Linked DNA regions of Homo sapiens: region 2 is linked to region 1. The links are contacts of gene promoters, found by promoter capture Hi-C in blood cells and fetal thymus (Javierre and others, 2016). All regions are on one chromosome and are shown on one strand. The core of a region is centred on a gene start or on the middle of the fragment in contact, and the rest is flanking DNA. Distances in the headings are between cores, read along the strand shown. Region 1 holds the start of TMEM132C (transmembrane protein 132C). Region 2 holds the start of FZD10-AS1 (FZD10 antisense RNA 1).

What was found. The method cuts DNA at HindIII sites, captures the fragments that hold promoters and counts their contacts. A CHiCAGO score of 5 or more calls a contact.
Region 2: the fragment with the promoter of FZD10-AS1 here is called in contact with the fragment with the promoter of TMEM132C in region 1 in 1 of 17 cell types (M1 macrophages); the score reaches 5.8 in M1 macrophages.

Annotation. Positions count from the first base shown.
Region 1 is chr12:128,264,596-128,269,285 of GRCh38, forward strand. It overlaps TMEM132C (transmembrane protein 132C), which reads left to right and starts at 2,575. Exons shown (of 9, transcript NM_001136103.3): 1 at 2,575-2,892. The coding sequence starts at 2,808. LOC107987176 (a long non-coding RNA gene) reads right to left here and starts at 2,437. Exons shown (of 2, transcript XR_001749176.1): 1 at 1,976-2,437. RefSeq lists enhancers at 1,721-2,242, 2,778-3,616. The HindIII fragment of the contact is 9,837 bases long and covers 1,049-4,690 here.
Region 2 is chr12:130,160,269-130,164,841 of GRCh38, forward strand. FZD10-AS1 (FZD10 antisense RNA 1) reads right to left here and starts at 1,410. Exons shown (of 4, transcript NR_033834.1): 1 at 389-1,410. It overlaps FZD10 (frizzled class receptor 10), which reads left to right and starts at 2,196. Exons shown (of 1, transcript NM_007197.4): 1 at 2,196-4,573. The coding sequence starts at 2,675. The coding sequence ends at 4,420. RefSeq lists enhancers at 676-1,242, 1,243-1,809, 3,396-4,391, 4,477-4,573. The HindIII fragment of the contact is 7,232 bases long and covers 1-4,573 here.

The DNA of each region.
Region 1 (4,690 bases), core at 1,325-3,824:
ATAAATTATGTTAAGTGCTTCCATGTGCCCACAGTCCTTAAGGAATTCTGCAACAGCCTTTGAGGAGATTAGAAGCCTCTGATGTTCCTTATGAAATTCAGAAAACCATCTGGAAGTAATCTAAGTTAAGGAATTAATGATTTGGGGGTTAAATGATACATGACTTAAAAAAAATAAATACAGAAAACTTTATTAGCCCATGAACCTCAATTTTTGTGGATTTACCTATGAAAGAGAAATTGACTATATCATCTGTTTTATTTGTTTGTTCAGTTTTGTGTGCATGTTTGTTTGACTGCTCTTGAGAGGGACACGCAATAGATTAAATGGAGTCCTAAAGGAAGGTTTGCAGAGAAGCTTTCATTTGCTGGGTCTCCTGAAGGCTCTCACAGGGGATGCCCGGAGGCATCATAGTCTCAAGGGGCATCTGTGATTCAGGATCACCTGAAGACAGTGGCTGCCTTTGGGGTGCTGTGCAGTGAGCTTATCTGATTGAGAATCCTTTCCCCACTCCAACCCCATGTTGAATTAGTATTTATTTTGCTGTGGCTTGTTTGGTAGCCCCTGGTTTTGATTATTTGCATCACAGAGATGTAGTCCAGGACCTGACTTGTCTTTGCAGTAGGGACAGCAATGTTCTGTGCCAAAAGGAAAGAAATGATGTGGAAAGAAGGTACATTATGAGGCTGCATAGAACAGGGGAGTGGAGGGCACTTCTTTGGGTTTTTATTTTTTGTCCCTGTTATCCAATAGGGAGGAGAGAGGATAAGGCAGATTCCCATCCTCAGTTACAAACAATGGGACATGTGTATTTCTCCCTCATGCTGGGAACATTTAAATGAAAAAAAAATTATTCCCCGGTGATGTTCAGGCTCAAAGCACTGAGAATAAAACGTACCTTCCGTTTTAGGAGCCCAAATCTACTTTACAACTGCCCCCTGCCCCCAAGGTCAGGTCTACACTAGCTGAATGTACTGAAGAATTGGGCGATTATCAGCATAATCCACTTTAAAAATCAAGTCTCTGCTATCCAGGCCTATGAGAATCAAGCTTTTACCGTTCCCTTTGGGGCCTGGATAGTTTTCAAGCTGCCTTCTCCTCACATCATGTGAGTAGAGCCGGCCAAGAAAACCAGGGAGACATCTCCCCCCAGCCTGGCCCAGACTTCCGGGCCCCACCCCAGGAGAGAGCCTCCCACTCTGGCCAGTGCCCTGCAAAGCCTTCGCCCCACCCCGCCCCAATTTCTCCTTATGCCTGGCTCATTCCTTAGGGGCTGAGTTGGGAGATAAGACTTGGGGTTGCAGTTGCTGGGGATCATTCGTTTACATTTCTTTTCTTTCAATCAAGGACTTCTTTTTTTCTTTTGAAATTCTTTCCTGCACTGATGGTGAGAAAAGACCCCTCAGGCTTCCTTTTGATGTTGGACCGAGCCAGCCCACGGTGAGAGGGGATGCTGAGCCCGTGGTGAGGAGCTCAGGACAGGAGGGGACGTCCAGAGACCTCCGAACCCATGGCCCTTCATTCCCAGTCACAAGGGGGGAGTCGGGGTCCCGCCCTCAAACTGCTCAGACCACGCGTGGCAGAAAGAGCAGAGCATGAGCATCAGGAACCGCACAGGGAAGCCGCTGAGATCACCTGGGATCACCACCATGAGGGAGGCCAGCCCTGGAGAAATCAGAGGGAAAAGATAGAGAGAACGAAGTCGGGGGGGGGGGGGGGAGGGCGGATCTTCCTTGTCTGAGTCTGCAGAGAAATTGCCTATTGCAGGAGCAAGTCTAGAGAGGGGCTATTCTCCACCCACTGAAAAGATAATAAAACACATGCTATGGGCGGCGGGGAGATGATTGGGGAGTGGAAGCCCCACAGACATGCAGTGAAAAATGATCCTTTCTTCCCCTCTGCGTTCTCGTCCCCTTCCCAGAGACACCGCTGTGATCTCGTGCCTCGCCCCCTCCGCACACGCACAGGTGCACACCCGCATCTGTCTTGAGCCCGCACCCCGCCTTCACGCTCCGCTGCGCGCTGCTTTTCCGCGCTCAGTGATCCAGTTAGGAGCTCTCCCCGCAGCAGCTGCGCGGGACTTTGCATTCCAGATGTCCCCAGCCCTCCAGGCTAAAGCAGCGGCCACCTGAAGTTGAGGAATGGGGCGTGACGACCACCAGGTCCCGCAGTGACCACGGGAGGGTGGGGAGAAGGAGTCCAGCTCCGCCTTGAGCGTCGGGTCCCTGGGCAGGACCCTCCGGGCCACGGGCCGCTGTCCGTTGGGCACCCGGGCAGGAGTCTGCGAACGCTGAGTTTCTCTGGAAAGGCGCGGACCCCCGGAGGAGCCGTCCCAGCCGCCTGGGGAGACGCCCCCTCCTCTCCCGGTCTTCTTTCCCGGGCACACCCTCCCTAGCCCGGGCGGGGGGGTTCTCCATCTGCCGCCCCTCCCGGCGGGCAGGCGAACTCTCTCCTACCGCACCCTCAATCTGTCCGCGGTCGCGGGGCTCGGCGGGGGCGGGGCCCGGGCGGGGGCGGGGGCGGGGCCGGGGGCGGGGCGGGCCGGCGGCTGCGGAGGCTGCGGAGGCTGCGGGAGAAAAGTTGTCCCGGCCGGAGCGCGAGCAGCGGCGGAGCCGGAGCCGCCAGAGCCAGAGCCGGAGCTGCGGCGGCGTGGACCCGGCAGGGGCGGGCCTCGGACAGCAGAGACGCAGCGGGCCCGGCCGACCGGGCTGCGGGAGTGGCCCCGGGCATGGGGCGGCCGGCGGGGGCCGCGGGCGGGCGCTGCGCTTCGGGCTGGCGGCGGGCTGCGTGAGCGGCCGGGACGCAGGATGCGCTCCGAGGGTGCGGCCCCCGGGCCGGCGGCGCCGCTGTGCGGGGCGCTGAGCCTGCTGCTGGGCGCGCTGCTGGGCAAAGGTAAGGCCGGGGCGGGTGCCTGGCGCGCCGACGCATGCGAACTTCCCGGTTCCGGGGGAGCTCGGGGTGAGGGCAGCCGAAGCGAGGGGTGCGGCGGGGGCCTCGGCGGGGGCTCGGATCCCATCAACAGCGCCTCTGCGGGTGCCGAGCCGCCCCTAATCCAGAAGGGCGCTCCCAGCTGGGCGCCGGGATCCGGGCAAGTTAGGCTGGTCCCGAGTCCCGAATCTCCCACCCCGGACCCCCCAGACCCAGAGCTGCCCCGCGGATGAGGAGGGGGCGTGGCTGAGGGACACGGTGTTTGTTCCCCATCCCTGAGTTCCGTGCGGACCTGCCCCAGCCCCAGCACAGTCACCCTGTGGAACTGGCATCCAGGAGAGGTGCTCCGCTCTGTGCGCTCCTTCCTCCCGGCTGTGTGCTCCCTGTCCACAGCTCCCCATCCACAGCTTCGGCACTGTGGGGCTGGTGCTCCAGGAGGGAAGGCCCGGTTCTTTGCATCCCCTTTCCGCAACCGCTAGGGTCTCTGTGCGGGCCCTAGAGGAACGCTCACTCATCGCGCAGCTCACCAGGGACCCCAGCTTGGCAGAAACCAGGGGCTCTCTGCGGGTTCTCTCAAATGAGTCCTTTGCGGTGGGGGAGCGCGGATGGGGAGGTGGGTGCGTCCCTCGCGACGGGAACTACCTCACCAGCGGTCCTGTCCGGGGCTCCTTCACCTCAGTGTCCTCTTCTCTACAATGGGAGTGACGGCCCTGCTTTGGGTTGGAGGAATTTAAAGGAGTTAACGTATGGCGCCCGCAGGGCTCACGAAAGGTAGCCGTGTGGTTTTTCCGACCTTTTTTATTATGTGCGTGTGCGGCCGAGTGGCCGCGCGGATGCGGCGGCGGGAAGGGCGGGGAGAGGCGGTCTCCAGCCCCAGGAGCCGCGGGGCAGGCGGGGAGCAAGGCCTAGGCTCTGCCAGGGCAGCAGCTGCCCGAGTCCCGGGGCGCGCCCAGGGCGTAGAAAAAGGAGAGCGTCGCTTTCCTGCTCCCCGCGCCCTGGCGAAGGTCTCGGGTTCATTTGGTTAAACGGAGGTGCGCACATGGGTGCCCTGAGCCTTCGCGCGGCGCCGCGGGTCCAGTATCGGCCCCAGGCTCTGAGCAGAGAACACTCAAAGCCACCCTTCTCCCGCCTAATGCTCTGAGGCTGAGCTAGAAATGCGTTCAGAGAGACAAGTTGTCAATGGAGGTTTAAAAGTAGCGTTTGCTTTTCAAAAGTCATTCTGCACCGCCTGAAAATCCAGAAAAATCTACTTTCCTTGAGGCTGCGCTTTCCCAGATACACCAACCAGACAAGTTTGCTATGTTTTATATAAGTGTTCCTTTCTTCCAAGAGCTCCAGGTAGGGAGGAGGGTGGGGTGAGAGAGGGGGGGGAAGAAGGAGTGAGAGAAGAGGGAAAGAGAGGGTGGGGCGAGAGAGGGGGGAAAGGGGGTGAGAGACGAGGGAAAGGGGGGGCAAGTCGGGGGTGGAGGAGTAGGAGAGGGGGGCACTTTTCTATTTTATTTGAAAGAGTCAACAGTCACGATCTGGTGCCTGAATTCTGCTGTTAATTAGCTCTAGGTTCCAGCGTTTCTAGGATTCAGTTTTCCTAGATGCAAAGTGGCCATTGAAGAATTCCCTTCCCAACCTACCTCCCAGCAGTTTTTTGTTGATAAAATGACTGAATGGGTAGTAAAGCACTTTGCAGAGGAAGGCGGTGCTAATTGAGCAGGGCGTGACCGACCTCCTCCGGGTTTTCACCCCTTGCCCTTGAGAGAATTTAACC
Region 2 (4,573 bases), core at 160-2,659, 1.9 Mb after region 1:
TAGAAAAGCCAAGTGATTTCCGCTGAATTAATTTTAATTTAAAGGTCCTGAAAAATTACTCACTAGACAAAAAACAACAACAACAAAAAAAAAAACACTATAATAAAAATGGCAGTCTTTCAAAAATAAAATCATGCAACTTTTCACTTGGGAAATAACACAGTTGAAGGTGGTGTTCTAACTGCCCGGAGTTTCTACCTTCTTTTTCACTTTCTCCCTCACCCCGACTTCCTCCAGCACCTCCTAGTGAGACCCAGGACACCCAGGGACAGCGACCCAGGGGTGGGTGCCTGAACCTGCCTATTAATTCTGGGATTCTGGGCGCTCAAATGTCTGTTGAACGGATGAATGAATGAGTGGAAAGGTGAGATTTCCCCAAGTTTCTTACCGATGTAAAAATTGTAGGGCTTGTTTTAATTAAAAGCCAATACTCTCCGAGGAAGTGGCCCCCTCCTGCACGGCGTGCAGAAAGCTGGTCAGTGAGGGGGGTTCCTGGCGGGCCCCATCTCCTTCCCGGGCGCTTCCTAGGGAGACCTTGCCCCGTGCGCAGCGTCCCCACCGCGGGGGCCCGTGCAGCCGCCCCCCACGCCGGGTGGAGCGCCGCCAACGCGGGAAGCCCCAGCACTGCCTCCAAAGATGTCCGCACACTCCACCCTGCTCCCTGGAACTATCCTCAAACGGGCAGGGGGCAAGCGAGGCCGGTGGACGCGGGACTCGCTCCTCTGACCTCTCCCCGGCCCCCCGGGAGGTAGCGGGAGATTGCACACGCGATCCTGCGAGTTTCCGAACTTTGGAAGATCGTGACCCGGAGAGACCCTGGGAGGAGAGGGCCGGCCACCTCCTAGGGGTGCTGTTTTTTTAAGGGTCAACCCAGGACGCTACGGGAAGCACCTGGCGCATCCTTGGGAACAGTGGGGCTTGGCGGTGGGCGCCCACCGCGAACGCCCTGGGCGGGGGAAGGGAATGGCGGGGGGACGTCGTGTCCTAAGTGACCCCGTCACAGACCCGCCCCAATCCGAGGGGGGATGAGCTCAGAGGACCTGCCCAGGACGCTCCTTCTCCACTTTCCAGGAAAACCGAGCGGCGTGCGCGCCTCCGTGTCCTCGCGGGAGCTGGGGGTCCCCGGGCAGGCGCTGACGCGCTCCTCCCACGACCCACTCCATCCCACCCTACTCCGGGTCCTCCTGCGGGGCTGCAGCCAAGGAGGGCGCTGGCCGGGCACATCACTCGCCAAATCACATAAATACCCCACGAGCGAATGACTTCCTATAATAAATAAACTCAGCCGCCAAGAAGGCATCTCCAGCCCTGCTGGCGCGAGGCCCCGGCTCTGCGGCTTCGGAGGGGGCGGGGGTCACCGCGGTACAAACCAAGCCCGCACTTCCCGCGGGGTGGGAGGCGGTGTTCAAAGTCCCGGGACGCTTCCCGCCCCTCCCCCTTCCCGCCTTCTTAGAGGAGACCTCGGATGAGCGGCCCTAAAATCCGGATTCTCGAGCCCCTCCCCCTCCCCTTAGCTCGTCTCTTTGAAATTTCAAAGAAAATCCCTCCTCGGAGCCCGGAGCCCGGGGCTGGTAGCACCTCCCCAGCCTCAGGAAGATGCGGGCAGGTTTACAAGCAAGGGCCTACTTTATGGCCCAGGCTATAAAACGCAAATCCCACCTCCCTTTGAAAGCGCCCTCCGCCCGGGACTCACCATAAAAGGAAGAGAAGATGCACCCCGCGCCCCTCGCCGCGGACCACCCCCAAACCCCTTCTCCCGCCAGTCCCCGAACTTCCCGTAACCTCGGCGTCCTCGGGGTGCCGGGGACCATCCCGGGGACCGCCGGGAAAGGGGGCGCCGGCGGAGAGGATAGCGAGAGGCAAAGTTGGAGGCCAGGCAGAGAGAGGGCGAGGAGAGGCGGGCGGGACTGCCGGGGAGGGTCGCAGCGCGCAGAGCCCCGCGCGCCAGGCGGGCTGTCCCGGGGCTGGCGGGCGACGCGGGCGGGACTAGGCGCTGCGCCCCCCGCAGGCTGGGCTGCAGGCCGGGGGGGATCGGCCCCCGCGGGGCCCGGGAGCCCGCGGCGGGGCGGCGGGGAGGAGGCTGCCCCGGGCCGCTGCGCTTTCTCATGCAAAGCAGCGGCGGGGCGGGGCGCGCGGCCCGGGGGCGGGGCCTGTCAGCGCTCGGCTTTTCTGCCCCCCTTTGCCTTTTTGCGAGTCTTCTCATCCCGGGACGCAAACCTCGAAACAGCTGCCGGCTGGTCCCGGCCGAGGCCGGCGCAGGGAGGGAGGAGCCGCCCGGGCTGTGGGGGCGCCGCGAGCTGGGCCGGCCTCGGTGTGCCCGCGCCGCCAGCCCGCTCCAGACGCGCCACCTGGGCGCTCCAAGAAGAGGCCGAAGTTTGCCGCGGCCGTGAGTTGGAGCTCGCGCCGGGCCGCTGCGCCGGGAGCTCCGGGGGCTTCCCTCGCTTCCCGGTATTGTTTGCAAACTTTGCTGCTCTCCGCCGCGGCCCCCAACTCGGCGGACGCCGGGCGCGGAGAGCCGAGCCGGGGGCGCTGTGCGCAGCGCTCGGGCCAGGCCGGGCGGGCATGGGCGGGGGCCCGAGCAGGGGTGGAGAGCCGGGGCCAGCAGCAGCCCGTGCCCGGGAGCGGCGGCGCTGAGGGGCGCGGAGCTCCCCGCGAGGACACGTCCAACGCCAGCATGCAGCGCCCGGGCCCCCGCCTGTGGCTGGTCCTGCAGGTGATGGGCTCGTGCGCCGCCATCAGCTCCATGGACATGGAGCGCCCGGGCGACGGCAAATGCCAGCCCATCGAGATCCCGATGTGCAAGGACATCGGCTACAACATGACTCGTATGCCCAACCTGATGGGCCACGAGAACCAGCGCGAGGCAGCCATCCAGTTGCACGAGTTCGCGCCGCTGGTGGAGTACGGCTGCCACGGCCACCTCCGCTTCTTCCTGTGCTCGCTGTACGCGCCGATGTGCACCGAGCAGGTCTCTACCCCCATCCCCGCCTGCCGGGTCATGTGCGAGCAGGCCCGGCTCAAGTGCTCCCCGATTATGGAGCAGTTCAACTTCAAGTGGCCCGACTCCCTGGACTGCCGGAAACTCCCCAACAAGAACGACCCCAACTACCTGTGCATGGAGGCGCCCAACAACGGCTCGGACGAGCCCACCCGGGGCTCGGGCCTGTTCCCGCCGCTGTTCCGGCCGCAGCGGCCCCACAGCGCGCAGGAGCACCCGCTGAAGGACGGGGGCCCCGGGCGCGGCGGCTGCGACAACCCGGGCAAGTTCCACCACGTGGAGAAGAGCGCGTCGTGCGCGCCGCTCTGCACGCCCGGCGTGGACGTGTACTGGAGCCGCGAGGACAAGCGCTTCGCAGTGGTCTGGCTGGCCATCTGGGCGGTGCTGTGCTTCTTCTCCAGCGCCTTCACCGTGCTCACCTTCCTCATCGACCCGGCCCGCTTCCGCTACCCCGAGCGCCCCATCATCTTCCTCTCCATGTGCTACTGCGTCTACTCCGTGGGCTACCTCATCCGCCTCTTCGCCGGCGCCGAGAGCATCGCCTGCGACCGGGACAGCGGCCAGCTCTATGTCATCCAGGAGGGACTGGAGAGCACCGGCTGCACGCTGGTCTTCCTGGTCCTCTACTACTTCGGCATGGCCAGCTCGCTGTGGTGGGTGGTCCTCACGCTCACCTGGTTCCTGGCCGCCGGCAAGAAGTGGGGCCACGAGGCCATCGAAGCCAACAGCAGCTACTTCCACCTGGCAGCCTGGGCCATCCCGGCGGTGAAGACCATCCTGATCCTGGTCATGCGCAGGGTGGCGGGGGACGAGCTCACCGGGGTCTGCTACGTGGGCAGCATGGACGTCAACGCGCTCACCGGCTTCGTGCTCATTCCCCTGGCCTGCTACCTGGTCATCGGCACGTCCTTCATCCTCTCGGGCTTCGTGGCCCTGTTCCACATCCGGAGGGTGATGAAGACGGGCGGCGAGAACACGGACAAGCTGGAGAAGCTCATGGTGCGTATCGGGCTCTTCTCTGTGCTGTACACCGTGCCGGCCACCTGTGTGATCGCCTGCTACTTTTACGAACGCCTCAACATGGATTACTGGAAGATCCTGGCGGCGCAGCACAAGTGCAAAATGAACAACCAGACTAAAACGCTGGACTGCCTGATGGCCGCCTCCATCCCCGCCGTGGAGATCTTCATGGTGAAGATCTTTATGCTGCTGGTGGTGGGGATCACCAGCGGGATGTGGATTTGGACCTCCAAGACTCTGCAGTCCTGGCAGCAGGTGTGCAGCCGTAGGTTAAAGAAGAAGAGCCGGAGAAAACCGGCCAGCGTGATCACCAGCGGTGGGATTTACAAAAAAGCCCAGCATCCCCAGAAAACTCACCACGGGAAATATGAGATCCCTGCCCAGTCGCCCACCTGCGTGTGAACAGGGCTGGAGGGAAGGGCACAGGGGCGCCCGGAGCTAAGATGTGGTGCTTTTCTTGGTTGTGTTTTTCTTTCTTCTTCTTCTTTTTTTTTTTTTATAAAAGCAAAAGAGAAATACATAAAAAAGTGTTTACCCTGAAATTCAGGATGCTGT